Linked DNA regions of Homo sapiens: region 2 is linked to region 1. The links are contacts of gene promoters, found by promoter capture Hi-C in blood cells and fetal thymus (Javierre and others, 2016). All regions are on one chromosome and are shown on one strand. The core of a region is centred on a gene start or on the middle of the fragment in contact, and the rest is flanking DNA. Distances in the headings are between cores, read along the strand shown.

Region 1 (6,383 bases), core at 1,975-4,474:
TTATTATTATTTTTTGAGATGAAGTTTTGCTCTTCTTGCCCAGGCTGGAGTGCAATGGCGCGATCTCGGCTTACTGCAAACTCCGCCTCCTGGGTTCAAGCGATTCTCGTGCCTCAGCCTCCCAAGTAACTGGGACTACAGGCATGCGCCACCACACCCAGCTAATTTTGTATTTTTAGTAGAGACGGGGTTTCACCATGTTGGCCAGGCTGGTCTCAACCTCCTGACTTGAGGTGATCCACCTGCCTCAGACTCCCAAAGTGCTGGGATTACAGGCGTGAGCCACCACACCTGGCCCAACATTGATCTTCTTATATCCTCTGTGGGTCACGAATCTGCGAGCTGCTTAGCTGGGTGGTTCTGTCCCACAGTTTCTCACGGGATTGCTGTCGAGATGTCTTCTGGCTTGCTTAGTGCTGGGAGATCTGTTTCCAAGGTACCTCACCCACATGGCTGGCTCTCCACAGGCTGCCTGAGTGATTCATGACATGGTGACTGACTTCCCTTCATGCAGATGATTCAAGAGAATAAGGCAGAAACTACAATGTCTTCTTATGACCTCAGAAATCATGCATCATCACTTTTGCCACATTGTATTTGTTAGAAATAAATAAGTAAATCCTATCCACATTAAAGAAGAGGGGACTAAATCTCCAACTTTTGCAGGGAGAAGTGTTAAGGAATTTTTGAACACATTTTAATATGACCACACCATCCACTGATTTTTTTTTTTTTTTTTTGAGATGGAGTCTCACTCTGTCTCCCAGGCTGGAGTGCAGTGGCGCAATTTCAGCTCACTGCAACCTCCGCCTCCCGGGTTCAAGCGATTCTCCTGCCTCAGACTCCTGAGTAGCTGGGACTACAGGCGTGCGCCAACCCGCCCAGCTAATTTTTGTATTTTTATTAGAGACAGGGTTTCACCATTTTGGCAGGATGGTCTCTATCTCTTGACCTTGTGATCCACCGGCCTTGGCCTCCCAAAGTGCTGGGATTACAGGTGTGAGCCACCACGCCCAGCCCCATCCACTGATTTTTAAAAATTTCAGTATTATATTTTTTATTTCTAGAAGTTCTACTTGGTTACTTCTCCCCAATTTCTCTATGACACTTTTTATAGTTTCTTTTTTATTAGTTAGATATTACTATGTAGTAAACTACTTAAAAACTTAGTGGCTTAAAACAAGGACCATTTATTTATGTGGGTTAGTAATTTGGACTGGGATCATCTGAGAGTCTTTGGTTCTCTGCAGGACTCCATCATGTGTGTGCTCAGCTGTATGTTGCCTAGGAGGCTTTGCTTTTAGGGTTTTGCTAGCTGTTGACTGGGTGTTTTCGCTGTCCTCCATTAGCCTTATCTTCTACATGCCTCTCCCTTATCGTCAGCAGGGTAGCCTGAGTTTATTGTCCTGAAGAAGGCAGGCATATAAGAGACAGCAGACACATACAAAGCCTCTTGGGGCCTTGGCTTGGTATTGGCAGGCCACTTCTGCATTCTACTAGCTAAGACAAGTCATTCTATCAGGCAAAATCAACTCAGATTAAAGAGGAGGTGAAATAGATCCTACCTCTTTATGGGAGGAGCTGCAAAGTCACATTGCAAAGGACATGGATACAGGAAAGGTTGGAGAAATTGGGGCCTTTTTTGGCATCAATCTAACACAAACATATGTAGCCTTTTATATAGTCTTTGTCTGAAAATGCTAGTGTCTGATGCCTTTGCAGGTCAGATGTTTTAGCTGCTTTTTACCTACCAATCTAATTTTCATTTGTGTCTGGTTATCTTTTGCTGTATGTTGGATATTTTATATAAAAAAGTGTGTATGGTAACAATTTGGGTTCTATAATAATGCTTCCTGCTAAAGAGGGGGTAATTCTAGTTTTTATCTCCTTAATTCAATTTTTTCTCTGAATTTTTAGTAATGATTCATGTTCCATAGGTGATGGCCTACAATATAAACAACATGGGAAAGTAGAATTTCCCTGGGGAAGATGTCTGGCTTCAAATAGTTCCCTTCACTAATCGGTAAAGGGATCCTGATTCATGCCAAGAATCAAACACTCCCTTCACTTACAGAAGCAAGTCAGGTTCTCTATCACTGGCCCAACCTAGGGTTTGAGCCTTCCTTTCTACAGGTCCCTTAAATGGCATTACATTGAGCAAAACTGAGCAATTTCCTGTTCTGCAACAGCATGCTCTATTTTCCTGCCTTCATACAATTCTCTCTACTTGGAATGCCCACTTCCTCTTTTCCTATGGAAATATCTCAAGACCCAGCTCAAATACTCCCTTCTCAAGAAGCCTTCCCAACTGGATGCAATTTTTTCCCTCTTCTGAATTCTCTTAGTATTTGGTACTTTTTAACGGACTTTTCTGTCTTGAGGTTACTTGTGTATTCATTTTAATTCCCATTCAATTGTAGAGACCCTACAAGTTACATTACCTGACTACACATCTGTTTATTCATTTCAAAACTGTGAATGGTAATAGAACATCTTTTACAGGGCTGTTGTGAGGATTAAGTTAGCTAACATGTGAAACGCTATTTCTAAGGAATAGTAGTGGAGTGCTCAGATAAATGTTAGCTGTTACTACCATCCCTTAGAAATACTGTGATTTTGATGGAAGAGTTTTCACCAAGGTGAAAGCAGAATCCTAACAACTAATTTTAAAAATTCTGGGCTGGGGCCGGGCGCGGTGGCTCACGCCTGTAATCCCAGCACTTTGGAAGGCTGGGGCGGGCGGATCACGAGATCAAGAGATCGAGACCATCCTGGCCAACATGGTGAAATCCCGTCTCTACTAAAAATACAAAAATTAGCTGGGCGTGGTGGCAGACACCTGTAGTCCCAGCTACTCAGGAGGCTGAAGCAGGAGACTTGCTTGAACCCGGGAGGCGGAGGTTGCAGTGAGCCGAGATCACGCCACTGCAGTCCAGCCTGGACGACAGAGCTTGACTCTGTCTTTAAATAAACAAACAAACAAACAAATAAATAAATAAAATAAACAAAATTCTACTATCTGAGGTAAAGGACGAAAAAGCTTACAGAAGGGCAACCACGGCGGCGCCTGCGCAGAGCCGAGGCGAAGGAGGCAGGGAGAGACCCGGCCTGCCCAGAGTCGCGGAGGGCGGTGCAGCGCATGCGCGGGGCAGGTGAGGCTGCGCGGGGCGGAGCCTGTGGCCCTGGCGCGGCTCTGGGTCCGTCTCGTCGCGTCCGGGTTGTCACTCTCTCGGGTTGTTACTCTGTAGCTTCCCGGCTCGCGAAAGGGAGGACCTGTCTGGGTCATGGATTTTGAGAATCTTTTCTCAAAACCCCCCAACCCGGCCCTCGGCAAAACGGCCACGGACTCTGACGAAAGGTGATCCCATATCTTTTCATCTTTTGAATGCAGGGGCTCAGCGGGACTCCGCCTCTTAGTTTCTTCTGGATTGGAGGCAGTCCGGGGCCACGTCCGGGCCGCGTCGCGAGGGCCCGTGGGGAGCACGTGGGCCGGCCGGGCGCCACCGTCTGACCTATAGAGGTCGTGCGGGGTCCGGGTGGGAGCAGAAGCTGAACGCGGGGCTCAGGCTTAGGCCGTCAGGGCCGGGGCTGTCGAGAGCCTGGGCGGGGGAGCGGGGTGGAGGCGAGAAGGCTCCGGGATGCGCCCCTTTCTCTGCACAGCAGCGGGTGAGGAGCCCGCCTCTGTGGTCCCGTAGCGTCTGTCTTTACCGTTGTTGCCTGTTTCCACGAGACCGTAAACTCCCAGAGGACACTGATGTGACCTTTTTCACTGACACCTCCTAGGTTCTTTTCTGTAGAAAGGATGAAACCACAAGTTTATTGAAAGGTAAAGAATAGGCAATACTCTGCCATTAGTCCACTGATTTGCATGGAAAGACCCTAAAGACCACAATAAAGCAACAGACGTCATTTGGACTTAATATTTCCATTAGGTTGGAAAAGCAAGTGAGACTCTTGGTCAGATGGCCCTAATTTGTAGATTATATTTTTGGAGCAGTGTCTAGTGATTTGAAATGCTAAAAACCACCATCTTTGTTCTTAAACCTACGTCTTTTATTTCCCTCAACTGAGATATATTTCCAGTTGTGATTGATTTTACCATTCGATATTGGTCAGCTGTTCACTCTATCTCAAATTTTACCTTAACTGATCATCCAGAGCTTTACCTTGTGCTTTACATGAAATAAATCACTTAATCCTCAAAACAAACTTAAAGAGAAGATGATGCCGTCCTCGTTTTACAGATGGGAAAACTGAGGCACGGAGAGGCTAAATAACCTGCCGAGATTGCACAGTGTAAGTGGAAGAGCTATGTCCAGGATCCATGATTTTATCACCAAGCTTCTCATGCAAAATGACTAAAATTTTAAAATAAGCCCTATAAATATTGGAAAGAGACAGATACACTAATTACTTGCAGATGATATAATTTACTAAGAAAAATAACTGGTACTAATTGATATGTTATAAAATACATAAGAATTCATCACACAAAAAAAAGATAATAGCAACATTTAAAAATCCGAACAGCAGCTATCAGTTTCAAAGTGTGTTGGACACAAGCTCCATTCCCCAAAACTTGACTGCAATACATAAAAGACACTTGGAATTTTGCCAAAATGATGGGTGAAGGATGGTATGGAAGTATGGTGAGCTGTCCATATTATTTGCCCATTTTTCTCCTTTTTGGTCTTTTTCACATTCTAGGATCTCTTATCTGCGAATACTTTACTCCCAATTGTCATTTGTCTTTGCCTATGGCATTATTTTTCAATGTAAAAAGGAATGGGGATGTTGTGGTTTGGTTTTATGCAGTCAGATGAATCAGTCTTTTCTCATATGGTTTCTGGTTTTTTTTCCGAGTAATTTGTGATGGGAATACTTCTCATTCATTCAAAAAATCGTATTGAGCACCTGCTACGGCCTTGGGGATATAGTAGTAAATGAAGAAGAGATGAAAATTTCTGTACTAATGAATTTACATTATTAGGGGAAGGGGGAGACATACATAAATATATCATATTTTAGGTGGTACTAAATGCCCTGAGAAAATGAATGAAGGGTAAGGGGAAAATAAGCACTGGTGGGATGGTAGGGAGGGAGTAGTTTTGTGGGTTTTTTTTTTATTTTTTTGAGCAGAGTCTGGCTCTGTCGCCCAGGCTGGGGTGCAGTGGCGCGATCTCGGCTCACTGCAAGCTCTGCCTTCCGGGTTCACACCATTCTCCTGCCTCAGCCTCCCGAGTAGCTGGGACTACAGGCGCCTGCCACCACGCCCGACGTATTTTTAGTAGAGACGGGGTTTCACCATGTTAGACAGGATGGTCTCGATCTCCTGACCTTGTGATCTGCCCGCCTTGGCCTCCCAAAGTGCTGGGATTACAGGCGTGAGCCACCGCGCCCGGCTGGGAGGTGTAGATATTTTAAGAAGGTAGATAAGGAAAGCCTCACTGATAACATTGGTAAGTTTTAAAAATCTGTGTAGGGACCTGAAGGAGGTGAGGGGGTTTCATAGTCCAGAGGGGTGGAGAGGAGTCTGTATAAAGGTCCTCAGACGGAGTGAGCTTGGTGTGATTGGGTTAGGGGAGCAAAGTGGCCAGGACAGCTGGGGTGGAGTAAGAGGGACTTGGAAGTCTGCGAGGTACTGGGGTAGGGTTAGGGGAGCCCAATCATGGAGGAACTGGTAGGTGCCGAAATAAGGACTTTGGCTTTTACTCTGAATGAGACAAGAGACCATTGGAGGGTTTTTCAGCAGAGTGACATTTGAAATATTTTAGCAGGGTCATTCTAGTTGTGTTGAGAGTAGAATGTAGGGGTGCCAGAGCAGCTTGGATTGTTGTATTAGTGGCAAGAAGTGGTCAAACGTGGGTATGTTGAAGATAGAATAAACTGGATTTCCTCAGAGATTGGATGGGGATGTGAGAGAGGAATCAAGATTGACTTTAAGGTTTTGGTAGGGATCTTGAGAGGGATGGTGTTGCCGTTTTAGATAGCAAGAAGGATTAGGCTTCAGAGAGAAGAGCAAGAGTTCAGTGTTGGATGTTTTAAGATTACATATGTCTAGTAGATGTTCAGGTGGTTATGTTGACTAGGAAGTTAGCTCTGTTTGGATTTAAGAAGAGGGGTTTGGGTTAGAGACTTGGATATTGAAATCAACTACATACAGATGATATTCATAGTGATGATATAGAAAGGGATAGCCTGGAATGAGAATATAGATGAGAATATAGACAAAGAAGAGAAGAGGTGAGAACTGACTTTGAAAGTTGTGAAGATAAGGAACCAACAAAGGAGACTGAGAAGTAGTAGCTGTGGAAAGAAGAAACTAGAAGAGCCCACTATCTCTGAAGCTAAGTAAAGAACATGTTTTACAGAGAAGAGGTGGT
Region 2 (6,434 bases), core at 2,239-4,738, 260 kb before region 1:
TAGAAGTATTATTAGCAACAATGAATGGAAAAATGGCAGGATTTTAGTGACACAATAAAAAAGTTGAAAGTGTATTTTGGAAATACAATGAACAAGTACATGAGGTCTCAGGTCAGACCAAAATCTTGAACAAGTGATTGTTCAGTGAGATAATTACATAAGGAACTTGTCATAACTCCTGGCACCTAGGAAGCATTTTAATAAATGTTACTGTTATGAACAATTTTTCATCATATTTCCTTATGATAACCATATATCTATTATTTAGGAAGAATAAATACCTCTTATCTACAACTATCCCAGAAAACCTATGCCATTTCTGTTTTATAAAGATCTTCCCTGATTTTTCACCCAACTGAATGCTGGGGCAAAATATTTCTCTCAGTAAATAAAATGTGCTACAATGACTCTGGTGTACCAGAGATAACTGTCCTTCTACACAGCTGTGTATTTGGAAGGAAAAAGATACAGGGGCCAGCCGGGCGCGGTGGCTCACGCCTATAATCCTACCACTTTGGGAGGCCGAGGCGGGTGGGTAACCTCAGGTCAGGAGTTCGAGAGCAGCCTGACCAACATGGCAAAACCCCATCTCTACTAAAATTACAAAAATTAGCCAGGCATAGTGGCAGGTGCCTATAATCCCAGCTACTCCAGACGCTGAGGCAGGAGAATCGCTTGAACACAGGGGGCAGAGGTTGCAGTGAGCTAAGACTGTGCCACTTCACTCCAGCCTGGGTGAAAGAGCAAAATTCTGTCTCAAAAAAAAAAAAAAGAAAAGAAAAAGAAAAAGATACAGGGAACTGTCGTCCATGTGACTAACTCTAAGACGTAGCTCTAGATGCAGGTTTTGACTCATGACTTTAATAAAGAACTGAGGCCTTTGTGAACTTGGAGCCAGGGTCAATCCTCCGCCCTCGGCCCTCCACAAACTTCAATCTCCTTTTCTTTTTTCCTAAAAAGAAAAATATTTTAATTGATACATTTAAACCTTTAAAAACTATTTTGGCTTAAATGGTTCTTTTAAGATGAGTCATTTAAAAACTAATTATAATAAAAATTTCTTCTCCCATTCATATTCAACCTGAATTGACAAGCACACATCACATTAAAAAAAAAAAATCCCTGTTCTACACAAGAATATCCTTAACTTTTGCTTTAATTAAAATACTCTTGGCTGGGCGAGGTGGCTCACACCTGTAATCCCAGCATATTGGGAGGCCAAGGCAGATGGATCACTTGAGGTCAGGAGTTTGAGACCAGCCAGACCAACATGGTGAAACCCTGGCTCTCTACTTAAAAAAAAAAAAAAAAAAAATTAGTTGGCTGTGGTGGCGCATGCCTGTAATCCCAGCAACCCAGCAACTCAGGAGGCTGAGGCAGGAGAATCGCTTGAACGTGGGAGGCAGAGGTTGCATGAGCCAAGGCTGCAGTGAGCCGAGATCATGTCACTGCACTCCAGCCTGGGAAACAGAGCGAGACCCTATCTCCAAAAAAAAAGCAGGAGACAGGGTCTCACTCTGTCGCCCAGGCTGGAGTGCAGGGGCCCAATCATGGCTCACTGCAGTCAGCCTTGACCTCCCCGAGCTCAAGCGATCCTCCCAATTCAGGCTTCCGAAGTAGCTGGGACTACAAGCATGCACCACCACACCCTGCTAATTTTTTTTGTAACTTTTGGAGACAGAGGTTTGTCATGTTGCCCAGGCTGGTCTTGAACTCCTGGGCTGAAGTGATCTGCCTGCCTCAGCCTCCCAAAGTGCTGGGATTAGAGGCATGAGCCACCGTACTTAGCCTGTTTTAATTAGAATATTCTTTAAAATATTATAATTAAGGAAGATTTAAAAGTTTAACAGATGCTTATGGTAAAAAAGAGAGAGAGAAAAAAATACTAAAATATAAAATGGGGGCTGGACACAGTGGCTCATGCCCGTAATCCCAGCACTTTGGGAGGCTGAGGGAGGCAGATCACTTGAGGTCAGGAGTTCAAAACCAGCCTAGCCAACATGGTGAAACCTCATCTCTACTAAACATACAAAAAATTAGCACTGAGTGGTGGCACATGCCTGTAATCCCAGCTAGTCGGGAGGCTAAGGCAGGAGAATCGCTCAAACCCGGGAGGCAGAGGTTGAAATGAGATGAGATTGCGCCACTGCACTTCAGCCTGGGTGACAGACCAAGACTCTGTCTCAAAAAAATAAGATAAAATAAAATTGAAAGAAGTATTACATTCCAACATAAAGAAAAACCTGAGAATCAGAAGCAAATCAAAACTAATTTTTTTTTTTTTTTTTTTTTTTGCTGAAAGCTCAAGATTAATAATACACTTTAAAGGATTTTTATCCCTCATCAGAGACTTATACAGTGCATCTTTTTTTGGCTGGAGTGGGAAGTTAGGGGGAGGCTAGCTGGAAGGAAAGAAAACCTGAGAGCTGCTGGGAGCATTTATAGCACCACAGCAGCAACACTCTGAACAGCAATGAACAATGCGGAAAGGATGCCGCAAACTTCCAATAAAGCTTTTGCCTAAAATAGGAATTCTTTTTCCAGCATATTTGATTTATCTGGTGTCAGAATTCCAACCACCTATATTCCCTGAAGAAATGGGACTCCAAGCCCTGTAATTATTCTACTGGGCTCTACGTGAGAATACAGTAAGGAAAAAGTCTCAGTCATTGTGACAGGGTAGCATTGACATGGTGGATGGTAGAACAATGGGACAGAATGGAGATCCTAGAACAGACGCTCACATAAATGGCCACCTGATTGATTGATTGATTTCTGAGATGGAATCTTGCTCTGTTGCTCAGGCTGGAGTGCAGTGATGCGATCTTGGCTCACTGCAACCTCCACCTCCCGGGTTCAAGCAATTCTCCTGCCTCAGCCTCCCAAGTAGCTGGGATTACAGGCATATGCCACCATGCCTGGCTAATTTTTGTATTTTTAGTAGAGACAGGGTTTCACCATATTGGCCAGGCTGGTCTTGAACTCCTGACCTTGTGATCCACCCACCTTGGTCTCCCAAAGTGCTAGGATTACAGGTGTGAGCCACTGTGCCCAGCCAGCCACCTGATTTGTAACAAAGACACACCACAATGCAGCGGGGAAAGGACAAGTGGCCCTGGGTCAATGGGATATCCTTGTGGAAAGACATGAAACTTGATATATAACAACTTCAGATAGATTATAGTTCTAAAATATAAGAGATAAAACCCAGATGTCTACCAACTACAGAAGGAATAAACTGAAATACTTATACAATGGAATATTACACAGTAATAAAAAGGATAAACTACTGTTATGTGCAATAACATGGATGAATGCCACAGATGTAACACTGGGAAAAGCTGAACATAAAACAGGAAATATGGTATAATTCCATTTACATAAAGTTTAAGAACAAGCAAAATGAATCTAAGGTGATAAAAGTCAGAAAAGTGGCTGTCTTTGGCAGGGCATTTATTTATTTATTTATTTATTTATTTATTTATTTATTTATTTATTTATTCTGAGATGGAGTCTCGCTGTGTCGCCCAGGCTGGAGTGCAGTGGTGTGATCTTGGGTCACTGCAAGCTCCACCTCCGGGGTTCAAGCGAATCTCCTTCCTCAGCCTCCTGAGTAACTGGGACTACAGGTGCCCACCACCACGCCTGGCTAATTTTTGTATTTCTTAGTAGAGACGAGGTTTCACCGTGTTAGCCAGGATGATCTCAATCTCCTGACCTCGTGATCTGCCTGCCTCGGCCTCCCAAAGTGCTGGGATTACAGGCGTGAGCCGTCGCACCTGGCCTGGCAGGGAATACATGTTTTGAGGGAGTTCAAAGGAGTCTTCTGGGATGCTGTAAATGTTTTATATTTTTATGTATATCACAGCTAGGTGAGTACATGCATAACTGAAAACTCACCAGACTGTACACTTTGTGGATGTTACACCTCATTTAAAAAATCTTTACTAGACTTAGTAAACTGTAGTAAGTGAACACTAATGCTAAAATACTACTTCCAGGCATATTTAGAAATAAGACCAAGAGAAAAAAGAGACAATAGAAACAGACCTAAAAGTCAGGAGCTGACAAACTTTTTCTATAAAGGGCCAGACAGTAAATATATTAGGTTTTACAGGATATGTACCACCTCTGTTGCATATTCTCATTTTTACAATCTTTAATATATAAAAAACATTCTTTGCCCACAGACCTTACAAAAACAAGCTACAGGCCATATGCAGCCCATACACAGGGCATACTCTGGATTACTCTGCCATGGGTAATCTAGATTTTGGAGTTATCAGATAAGGATGTTAAAGAATTGCCATTATCTTCAAGAAAATATGAGGCAAGTGGGAGAATTTCATAAGACAACTATAATATGAAAAAAAGAAACAAATATAAATTTCAGAACTAAAAAGCACGCTAACTAAAATCAAGAACTCAATAGGTGAGTTTAACAGCAGCTTTTAAAAGCTTTTACCTTGTAAAAATTGTTAACAGGTTTTAATAGATAAAGAAAGGATTAGCAAACAAAGATGTCAGACGAAAAGAATGAGTACAACCATGGGGAGATAAAATGATACAAAAATGCCATAAAAGTGTGAGAAACAGTGAAAAGCATTAACAATCATGTAATTAGAGACCTAGAAGAAGAGGAGAATGGATCAAAAGACACAACTGAAAGTATAATGTCCATGAATATTCCAAAACTGGTAAAAGATATCAAGCCACGGTGCAAGAAGCACTATGAACCCAAATGCAGGAATATGTACAAAGAAAACTACACACATCTCATAGTAAAATTTATAAAAACCAATGTAAAGGAATCTCAAAAATAGAGAAGAGATACATTAAGAGCAATACTAAGATTTCACCTGACTTCTCAGCAGAAAAGATGGAAGCCAGAATACAATGGTATGCAACCTTCAGAGTAGGAAAAGAAATTAACTGCTTATCTAGAAATCTATGTCCAGAGCAAATGTCCTTAAAAACAAAAAGACAAAATATATTTTCAGACAAATAATAACTAATTTATCACAGCAGACTTTACTTAAAAACTACTAAAAATTAGTTTTTTTTTTTTTGAAACAGAGTCTTGCTCTGTCACCCAGGCTGGAGTGCAGCAGCACAATTTTGGCTCACTGCAACTTCCACCCCCCAGGTTCAAGCTATTCTCCCACCTCAGCCTCCCGAGTAGCTGCGACCACAGGTGTGCACCACCATGCCCAGCTAATTTTGCATATTTTGGTAGAGATGGGGTTTCAGCATGTATCAGGCTGGTCTTGAACTCCTGACCTCAAGTGATCGGCCCACCTCGGCCTCCCAAAGTATTGGGATTACAGGTGTGAGGTGCCGCGCCTGGCCTAAAAATGAGTTTCTTAACAATAAGGAAAATAATCCTAGATAAAAGCAAGGAAATGCAGGAAAGGAAGAGAAACAACATAAATGGTCAAAATGTGGGGAACTCTAAATGAATATTAACTATCTATAATCATAGGAATGCTGTCTTGTGAGTTTAAAATATATGTAATATTAATTATTCCCCATGTACCCACCATCCACTATCTTTAAGCCTCTTCCCTGTGTCCCTTCTGCCTTCCTTCTAGGGATATGAATAACCACTATTTTGAATTGTATGTTTATCACTTCTTCATTTTGCTTTACATTTTTACCATACATGTGTATTCAGCTAAATAAAACATTATTTAATTTTACTTGTTTAACTTATGTAAGTGAAATAAATTTGTATGCATCTTCTATATAGCTTGTATTTTTGCATTTTTTTGCTTAATATTATTTGTATATTTATATTTATACTTGTATAAATATTCATACTTGTATAAATATTTATACTTATACTTGTATAAATATTTATACTTGTATAAATATTTATATGTATATTTGTATAAATCCAGTGAAAATACCCTTCAGGAAGATGGTGAAATAAACACATTCTCAGATGACAGAAAACTAAGAGGATTTATCAGCAGCAAAACTGTTCTAAAAAAATGCATAAGAGAGAGAGTCAGAACTTTAAAACTTAAGGAAGTATATGGGTAAATATAAAAACTCTAAAAGAAATGCTTAAGTCTGAAGGGAAATGATACCAGAGAGAATCTCAGAACTTCGCAACTGAAGGAAAAACAAAAGTAGTATCTGGGTAAATATAAAAGAATATTTTTCTCCTTTTATAAAGTGGATTTCTTATAGACAGTATAGAGTTTGGTTTTATAGTTTAAAAATAATCCAACCTGATAATCTATCATACCTGTGCAAATATATATATAAAACTGTTGATAGCAAAAATAATAACATTATGTGGTAGAGATTTCAATGTGTAGATATATACTTATGATAACTATAACAGAGGGCAAGAGTTAGTGAACTATGTTATAAGGTTTTTGCATTTTATTTGAAGTGGTAAACTATTAACTCTAAGAAGGCTGTGA

What was found. The method cuts DNA at HindIII sites, captures the fragments that hold promoters and counts their contacts. A CHiCAGO score of 5 or more calls a contact.
Region 2: a contact is called between a fragment that was not itself captured here and the fragment with the promoter of ZC3H8 in region 1, in 1 of 17 cell types (erythroblasts). The highest score is 5.1, in erythroblasts.

Annotation. Positions count from the first base shown.
Region 1 is chr2:112,251,883-112,258,265 of GRCh38, reverse strand. It overlaps ZC3H8 (zinc finger CCCH-type containing 8), which reads left to right and starts at 3,224. Exons shown (of 9, transcript NM_032494.3): 1 at 3,224-3,358. The coding sequence starts at 3,285. RefSeq lists a cis regulatory region at 1,240-1,491 and a silencer at 3,042-3,251. The HindIII fragment of the contact is 1,301 bases long and covers 3,043-4,343 here.
Region 2 is chr2:112,513,017-112,519,450 of GRCh38, reverse strand. All of the region lies in intron 5 of TTL (tubulin tyrosine ligase), which reads right to left. Among named protein-coding and RNA genes, the nearest start is that of POLR1B, 26 kb to the left of the region's middle. The HindIII fragment of the contact is 1,945 bases long and covers 2,516-4,460 here.